Regions from separate parts of the Homo sapiens genome. Here region 1 is linked to region 2. Evidence: promoter capture Hi-C in human tissues and cell types (Jung and others, 2019). All regions are on one chromosome and are shown on one strand. The core of a region is centred on a gene start or on the middle of the fragment in contact, and the rest is flanking DNA. Distances in the headings are between cores, read along the strand shown. Region 1 overlaps PTCD2 (pentatricopeptide repeat domain 2). Region 2 holds the start of FCHO2 (FCH and mu domain containing endocytic adaptor 2).

Evidence for each region. The method cuts DNA at HindIII sites, captures the fragments that hold promoters and counts their contacts. A contact is called where the count stands out against the background at its distance.
Region 1: a fragment that was not itself captured here is called in contact with the fragment with the promoter of FCHO2 in region 2 in 1 of the 25 tissues and cell types used here (dorsolateral prefrontal cortex).

The regions. Positions count from the first base shown.
Region 1 is chr5:72,354,596-72,359,319 of GRCh38, reverse strand. It overlaps PTCD2 (pentatricopeptide repeat domain 2), which reads right to left. Exons shown (of 10, transcript NM_024754.5): 10 at 1-1,117. The coding sequence ends at 893. Among named protein-coding and RNA genes, the nearest start is that of PTCD2, 37 kb to the right of the region's middle. The HindIII fragment of the contact is 4,646 bases long and covers 1-4,443 here.
Region 2 is chr5:72,953,270-72,958,112 of GRCh38, reverse strand. FCHO2 (FCH and mu domain containing endocytic adaptor 2) reads right to left here and starts at 2,072. Exons shown (of 26, transcript NM_138782.3): 1 at 1,984-2,072. The coding sequence starts at 2,016. FCHO2-DT (FCHO2 divergent transcript) reads left to right here and starts at 2,229. Exons shown (of 2, transcript NR_186392.1): 1 at 2,229-3,099. RefSeq lists a silencer at 1,480-2,179. The HindIII fragment of the contact is 22,512 bases long and covers 1-4,843 here.

The sequences.
Region 1 (4,724 bases), core at 871-3,370, 600 kb after region 2:
GTATGAAGCAGCTTTGAACTGCTCTCATGGCACATTTTTTTTTAATATGAGGCATTCAAGAGAGAAAAATCATTAACAAATAAGATAAACTATAGGACTAAATATTTATTATCCACATAGAAACCAAAGCATTATGTGGTTTTTAGTGGCACTTATTTTGAAAAGCACATGGCTTACCCATGAACAAAGCAGTAGTCATTTAAATTTGGCTTACTCAGCAGTCCTAAAGGCTAAATTCTGGTTTTGTTTGTGCTGCTGAGAAAACAAAACAACCACAATCCCAGCAAGTTTCCTTATGAACCTTATTTCTCTTATTTTTGAGAAAATATGATCCTACTAAACCTTGAATGAAGATTTCAAATCTATATGCAAAGACACATAGGCATTATTGTTTTGCAGATGGAAAAATAAGGGCTCAAGTCATAGACATATATGATGGCAGAGCAATGAGAAAATCCTGGGCTGTTTTCTAACATGGTAAAATAGGGTTTCATACCTCCTGAATTCAGCAAGGATGTAATTTGCAAGTAACTACTCCTTTGAAAATCAGAGTTATCCACACTTGTAGTGAAATTCATTCCTGATGGTGCTTACTGGGTTCCACTCTGGTGTCGGAAGCTGAACCGGAGACTGACCAGGTTCCTTCAAGGATCCTCAGCCATGCAAAAGGGAAGCGCCTTTCTGAGGGAGCCAAGCTTGCATCTAGACCTTCACAGTGGTGCAACATAACTTCTCAGAGATCGGCATGGTACCATTCAGTGAATTTGGGAATTTCAGGAGAAGACCAAGTGTCAGCACACTGTCTGCTGAAGTGCGATACCTGGCTTCTTAGGAAAGGTAATAACTCACTAGAAGCAGGCCCCTCAGATCCATAGGTGGACTGAAACCAGGGTTACTCAGCCAACAGGGACTGGCTGAGTGGCTGGAAGGTGCGACGGCTGACCATCCTCTTGTTTAATAGCAACGTGTGAGATTTCCTGTCCCTGGGGGTGTGGCAGAGCACAGCATCCAAAGAATCAGTGGTGACCTGGCCAGTGATGTGCAGTGTCCCATAGATCTCATCAAATTTGGCCACAAGGGCAGGCACATCCTTCACTTTTTCCCTCACTTTGGCCAGCTGGAAAAAAGCAAGAACACATCATTACATCTCTGCAAGATTTCTTCCTTATTCTTACTATAACCCTAAGAAAAAGAAATGGACATGAACAAAAATGTATGGTAGGCCAGGCGAGGTGGCCCATGCTTTAATCTAAGCAATTTTGGACGCTGAGACAGGAGGACTGCTTGAGCACAGGATTTCTAGGCCAGCCTAGGCAACACAGTGAGACTTTGTCTGTAAAAAAATTTTTTTAAAAATTAGTTGGTGTAGTGGGAGGATCACTTAAGCCCAGGAGACAGAGGCTGCAGTGAGCTGTGATCGTGCCACTGTACTCCAGCCTTGGCGACAGAGTGAGTCTTAAAAAAAAAAAAAAGTATGGTATACACCTAAAATCGTGAAAACCAGGGTACTGGGGCACACAGACAGCAGTATTACTATGAGGGATTCCAAAAGCTACACACAAAATTCAAAATTAGTACTTGAAAATCATACCTAATATAAAAAAAGGGGGGTTCAAATAACACATCATATATAATGAAACACACCAAGTAAAGGAGGTCATATACCAGTGGAATCAACTTTGTTCAATGTAATGATTAGAGCAGGAGGAGGCAGGGCCAAATTACATAGGCTTTATATATATTCCACAATAAGTTTTTTGAAATTTATTCTAAAAAAGCCATCAGAGCATCTAAAGTGGGAAATGATCTCATTTCTGTTCAAAAAGTTGCAGAGAATGAACTGGAGTGTACAGAAATGTGGAGACTATTCTGGAGGCCCACACCATAGCCCAGATAAGAAACAATGGTAGTTGAGATTGGGAAAGGTACAGAAAAGAAGGAGAAGTACACTTATGTGAGGTATATTTTGGAGTTTACACTGAAAGGACTTATTTTTGAATGGGTGAAGGAAAGGGAGGTGTCAAAGCTATCTTCTCAATTGGGGCTTTAATAGCTTGATGATGGGTGCTATCATTTCCTGATAGAGAAGACAGGGAGGCGAGATTTGGAAGGGAAAATCAAGAGCTCTGTTTGGACCTGATTGAGACGGCTGTGAACCATCTAAATGGGTATGTCTAGAACGTTGTTGGATATACAAGTCTGGGGCATGAAGGAGAGGTCTGGGCTAGAGGCATACGTAGTAGAGTCACAAGTATATGATGGTATTTAACCCCCAAAATGGGTGAACTAGAATGGAGAATGTGAAGCTGCTTTCTGAATAAAATCAGCATTTTACTTAGTTCAATCCTTATCAAGGGTACAATCTCAACACATTTCTTGATGGAATTTAATTGGGATCAAGCTTCCTAATAAATCCTTTGCCCCTCTTCCACCTCTTCCAAATATATAACACTGTTTGCACCTGCACATCTTCCTTTGAGACAATGGCTCCCAACCATGCCTGCAGACAAGCAGCTTAAGCACTTCTTAATGTTCTTAAAAAAGAATAGCTTGTTTAGTCCTCATGTTCAAGGTGAAAATGACTTAATGTGCAGCATATGGCTTCTAAAAGCAGCAGAGCAAACATGCCAAGCTGGAGGTAATTTTGATCTAAAAACTGTAACAGTTCTGTTACATAACTACAGAAATAAATCAGCAATTATTTTCAATAGTCCTGTGGTGGTATAATAGCACCTATGATAGTTTATAGTCTTATCTCCCTACATAACACTTTTTAAATAACTGCTGGCATAAGCATTAAATGCACTTTGTAAAATGCAGACGTTTACAATATAGGACTCCACTTGCAATCTCACACATATATATTTAGAACTAGCTCAAAAGCTACTGGAGTTATATGAATCAATCCATTTCTCATCAAGCTGTTCCTTGAGTGGTCCCACAGTAACCAGAGGGAAGACACTGAACTAGAGGGTTCATTTTCTAAGTACAAGAGTCTTATATGAGTATTTTTCAATATAAAGTTTGTTCGGGTGCTTTAGCCATATAAATGGGTGACAATGTATTGATGGTTCAGGTCTAAGGAATGGTTGTTAACAACAATGCTGCTGAGAAAATGGAAGTTGGATTTCACATGTACACATACACACGTGACTATGCACTTTAAAATCTGTTCATGCTTCTACTTTCCCTACTTTTCTAAACTTACTCCAAAAGGGTTGGGTGGATCACAGCCTACACAGAGCTAAAACTGCAAATAGAAAGAAGCGTTAAATCAACCATATCCAGTTAGTCATTTTCCTGACAAGCTCCCTTTTATCAGAAGGAAGAAGCCTTTGGGTGGAAGTGAGGAAATGGAACAGGGCTGGGAAGGCGACAGTGTGGCAGGAGGAGGAAGCAGCCACTGCCCTCTAGTGCCAATCCTGCTGTCTCAGCCTTCAGCCTGGACCAAACTATAAAAGAGAGGCAGGAGAAATGAGGGAGGAAGAGAGGACCAACCAACAGGCCACTTGGTTGGTCAAAATGACAATATCAGTATTATTACTAACAATATGATCACTGTCAATAACGTACAATTTCTTTACACTTCTGTTTTTCACCTTAAGTTACATGCTATGAGAGATACACAAATTACTACATCTCAAATGACCTACAAGAATTCCAATTTGTGTACTTAAGCCATCAATGTGACACATGGGTTCATTTGTTTCATTTCACTTTCAATTTTTAGGAACTGTTTTTTCTCTTCATTTTTATTTAACTCTGCTTTACAGTTCTGCAAAGCATTTACATGGTTCCTAAATGAAATACATAAACAAGGTACATTCGGAGAACTCATGTTTCCGTCCCTCACTTTCACTTTCAAAACTTTTATTTCTTAATTTTTTAAAATTAAATTTAAAAAATAATTTGTCAATTACTTTAATTGTCAAATAATAATTGTGTATATTTATAAAGTTCAATGTGATGTTTCAATCTATGTGTATACTGTAGAAAGATTCAGTCAAGCTAACAAAACTATCCATCATCTACCAATGTGTCTTTTTCTGCGGTGAAACATTAAAATATACTTCTTTGGCATTTTTGAAATATGCATAATAATTAACTGTGGTTCCTAAAGACTCAATCAAAAAAACCTTTAGGACTGATAAAGTCAGTAAAGCTGCAGGTTACAAAATTTACATACAAAAACAGCAGTATTTCTATAAAAAAAGATCTGAAAAAGAAATCAACATAACCACTTAAGTTTTGTTTTTTTTATCGTAGTGTTTTTCAAAAACATAAATATATAAAAATAACTATATGGTCCCGCCTTCTTAAGGCATACTACACATACCCATTTGCATCTTACTTTTGTCACTTAAAAACATATTTAAGTGATCCATATAAATGGTAATCCATAGCAGTATATGATGTAGCTGTTCCTCATTTCCTGTCCTTTGTACGAACAGACCCTAATTTGTACAACTAGTTGTCTAGTGATGGAAATTTGGGCTTTTTTCCAGTCTGCTGTTATTAGAAATTGGATTGCAACAAATAGCCTTGTACATACAACTTCTTTATATTTGCCAGTATATTTTTAGAATATACTCCAAGAAGTGGGAGGATTGAGTCAAAGGGTGAAAGTATTTGTAGTGTACCAATCTGTATTCGCTGTAGCAGCATTTCCTCAGATGATAGCGCCCATTTCCTCAGAGCCTCACCAACCAAGTTGGCTGGCAAAC
Region 2 (4,843 bases), core at 823-3,322:
AATGGGAGAAAATGTTTGCACATTATGTATCAGATAAGGTGTGTATCCAGAATATTAAAAAAAAAAAAACTCTTACAACTCAATTATAAAAAAAGACAACCCAATTTTTAAATGGGCAATTAATCTAAATAGACATTTCTCCAAAGAAAATATAAAAATAGGCAATAAGCACATTAACTGTGATGTTAAGCATCAAAGAAACGCAAATCGAACCACAATAAAATATTAATACTACTTCACGTTCACTCACTATATTATAATAAAAAGGACAAATAAGTGTTCGTGAGCATGTGGAGAGGAACCCTCAGATATTGCTGGTGGGATTGTAAAATGCTACAACCACTTCAGAATAGTATGGCAGTTCCTCAAAATGTTAAACATAGAGCTACGATTTGACCCAGGAATCCCATTCCCAAAAGAAATGAAAACATATGTTCACACAAAAACTTGTACAAAAATGTTCATGCAGCATTATTCATAACCCAAAAGTGGGAACAACCAGATGTCCATCACTGATTGGATAAATATTAATAAAATGTGGAATGGAATATTATTTGACCATAAAAAGGAATTAGTAGTGATACATGCTACATCATGGATAAACTTTGAGAACATTATGCTAAGTGAAAGAAACTGGTCACCATGGCCCCATTTATAGGATATGTCCAGACTAGACAAATGCAGAGAGGCAGAAAATACATTAGTTGCCTAGGCCTGGGGCAGGGGGAAAATGGGGAGTGACTGCTAATGGGTCTAGGGATTCTTTCTGGGATAACGAAATTGTTGTAAAACTGATATGGTGATGTTTACACAACTCTATGAACATATGAAAAAACCTCTGAATTGTACTACACTTTAAATGAGTGTATTGGTACGGAAATGTGAACTCAATAAAGCTGTTTAAAAAACAAAACACCTAAGGTCTAGTATATACGTTCTTTGTGGAAAACAAGGTACATTCAAGACAAATAAATAACTATGAACTGATCTGATTACTAACCAAGACCATGCTTGAGGCACTTAGAATTAAGAATTTAACATACATTCCTTACTAGCTAAAAGATTACCCCTTTAAATATGTCTAAATCTCAACGAAAATGGACCTGCAGTACTTGCAACTGTCAGGGCATAAAATGGGATTCACGAAAGATACCTGAGTAAACACGTTCCTTTCCTGTACATGGCTGAACTGTACTTCCCATTACAAAAAAAAAAACAATAACTGCAGAAAAATACTCCACCGGGAGCCGGAGAAATTCTCAAAGAAGAATCTAATACTGAGCTAAGACAAGGGGTGGAAAGAATGAGGAAGGGGAAGGAGCACAGAGTAGGGGGAGGTCTCCATGCATTTAAGCCCAAGGAGTCCAGTTACATTAAATCCAACTTTTAAACGCTTTGTGAACAGGCCCAGAGGCAAAGTCCTGGGCGCAAACCCACGAGCCGAGCTGCGAGGCTGAGAGGAAGTGCTAGTCCAGCCCAACCCCGCACTGGATTTGGTGTGGAAACCGTCAGAGGTAAAAGGGATCGCTCAGATGGGGGGCCCGCGGTGAGGGCAGGAGGCAAAACCCCACCGCCCGGCGCTCCCAGCCAGCGCGCAGCGGGAGGCGGCTGTGCCGCGGGCCCGTCCTTCGCGTCCGAGCTGCCGCGCACGCCCCGCGCGGAGCGCGGCACCGGGAGCCTCCGGTGGGGCTGGGTCCCGTCTCCCGCCCCATCCGGCGCTTTGTCCCAGCCCCGGTGGCCGGCGGCCCCGCTGCGGGCCCCCGGGCCGCGGTGACAGCCCCCGTCCCCATAGGGCTGCGAGCCCGGGAGTCCCTATAGGCTGGCGACCGGTCGCCCGCCGGACCTCACCCAGGCGGGACGCGGCAGGAGGACGCTCGCCCTGCCGGAGGGGCCGCCGCCGCCGCCCGAAGCGCACGCAGGCCAAGCTCAGGCGCCAAAAGCCTTGGACTTCGAAACACACGACTTCCAACATCCTAAGCTTACCCAAAAATTCTCGACGAAATACGCCATGACCATCGTGCCGCCGCCGCGCCGGGTTCCGCGTCCGCGCCCGCCCGCCGCTGTGTAAACACGGCCCGGCCCCCACAGCACCCCCGCCTTTCGCCGCCGCCGCCTTCTTCCCAGAGACCGGCCCGCACCTTCCAGGGCGCATGCGCCACCTAGCGGCTGCCGCAGCTGGGCGAGCACTTAGACGCCACGGCCACGGTGTGCGCATGCGCCCTGTCCCCATTCTCGGGTGTTGGTAGATCTCTCTGCATCCCGGGCGCGGCTGGGTTGAGTGTTCTCTTAGGAATGGTGGAGAACTGGGTCCTTGAGGAGTCACCGGGGAGACTGCTCGCACTGTTTGTGGTGCGACGGGCACTGGCCCAGGGACAGAGGGAAGAGAAGGGCCAGCCAGCGGCAGTGGAGTCGGCAGGCTGGCTGCCCACTCGCTTTCTCTCCTCACAAGACTCGCTTCCCCGGCCTTCGAGGATCTCGAACGGACTATAGTCTGGACTCGCTGGGCTGGAGGAAACTTGGCCGCTGGCCACCCGGAGGAGACTGAGAAGCCTTTGGTCAACAGGGCGCCTTTCCTTGAACCAAAACAAAACTTTCCGAAGCCGGAAAGGAAACGCCCAGTGTCGCCTGAGAGCCCTGGAGCTGCGCGAGACCCAGGCACTGAGTGCGGCCTCGGCCTCTGACCTCTAACACGCCGGGAACAAACCAGCTGGGGCGGCCCGCAGGCCTGCGGGAGCGGAATGTGACCCGAAACCGACGGACTTCCTGACCCATAGTCCATAGTTCTCTTCAGCAACTTGAACATTTTGGAAAAAGAAACAAGTCTTAACATGCCACGACCTAATGGAAAAACTAAATCCCCTTCCTACACCTTGCTTTCCAAAAGTTAAAAAAAAATAGTTAAACGCTATTAGAGGTCTCAAGTTCACTGTCACCAGATCAGCTAGGTCCAGAATCTTCAGTTCTTGAAGCCAAGCCCTACAAATAGATTTATTGTAGCATATCACACCTCTTCAGGTGACTTAAAACAATGAGAATTCATGAGAAATTATCTTCATCCTCAAGTAAAAATCATGAGGTGCCTTTCACATGGATGAAATTGTAAGTGCTTGTTGAACAAGGAATAATTGGATAATGGTATTGTGGTCATACTTTTTAAGAATATCTGTTAGAAAGATATAGGATGCAGAACATCTAGGATTTGCTGAAAGTCATTTATTATGGATAGGGGTATGAGTAAGGTCATAGATGAAAAGGGATGAAACAAGATTGGCCATAGTTGCTCTATTTTTGTGTATCTTGTTTCTTTATTTTGTTTCTTTAAAAAGTCCTCATATCACTGACATTTACACTTAGTTTTAGGGAAAGTCAAATTTAGAAATAAGCTACAGCTCTCTAAGCTATCGGTCTAACTGGATTTTTCTCGATGCTGAAGAACTTTTTAAAAAATTCAGCCATCTAGGTCACACAGCAAATACATTTGGCATTAAATTCCTAGTATCACTAAAGTACTCCCTCCCACCGCCGCGCCCCCCCCCTTCCCCCCGCACCCTTAGACCTGGGCAAGAGAGACTTCTATCCTGGACTCCATGCTTTAAAGGAACTTACATATCACACACACACATTAATTTAAAAAAAAATAGGTGCCCCTGCCGCTTGTGATCTGATACTGAACACTGGCTCATAACCATAAATTCCCTCTCCCAGTGAAGAACACTATTCAGGCCCCAGGAAAACTCTTCTTCCTATCTTTTGTCTTCTGTCCTCAAAACAAACGGTGAACTCCAAAAGCAGTGAAAATTTGTACATAGCATGGCTGCCCATTTCAGAGACTGCTTTGGAGTCAGAATTTGAGCAGCAGAAATGCTTAGGTAAGAGAGAAGACAAATTAACTTGTCAAATCCTTCATCTCAGCTTGAATGCTATAGATTCCTGCATGACAAAGTATTGTTTCTCAGTAGTATCAAGCATACATTTTCCTTTTGTTAGTGTTCCAATGTGTGGCTATTACCTACAGACAATTTAGTATAGTATTCACAATAGTTACTGGCCTTCATTCGCATTCTTCTGCTCCCCTTAAATTTAGGAGTAGATCTGGAATGAAAATAAGTATTCTGAGTATTTCAGGTATTTGCAAGGTTCATTAGGGCCGAAACACCATATCCTGTAATTGCCTGATGTTTAAGTTGTGGAACTTTATAGTAAACAGTGATTAAGGTGACTAAATTTCAGACAAGACTGTGTAGTATAGGAAGAGCGTGGATGGTATCAGCCTCCTTCTGCACTCTCAAGTGAGGTTTCCAGGGATGAACATACATTCTGGCAGAGCATAGATAAGCTCCTGAGTGGGTAGTGCTGGGTGGGGTTACAGGCATGAGCCACCGAGCTTATATGCGTTAAAGTGTTTGTGCCACACTCTCTTAGACTTTGCTTATCAAAATGTATTTCATTTTGAAATTATTAAAAACCAACATAGATAACAACAGTGTACAAGTCACTGCCTATAATACCTGTCACTTAAGAGTCAGTAAATGTTCAGTGAATGAATGAATGATGACATCTATCATAGAAATGTCAAGGTAGATGAGACCTTGAATATGTAATAATTCCATTATCTTTTACACATTCTCTTTTTTTTTTTTTTTTTTGAGACAGAGTCTCGCTTGGTTGCCCAGACTGGAGTGCAGTGGTGCGATCTCAGCTCACTGCAACCTCCACCTCCCAGGTTCAAGCGATTCTCATGCCTCAGCCTCTCAAGCAGCTGGGACTACACATGCCCACCACCACGCCTGACTAATTTGTGTATTTTTAGTAGACACGGGGTTTCACCACGTTGGCCAGGCTG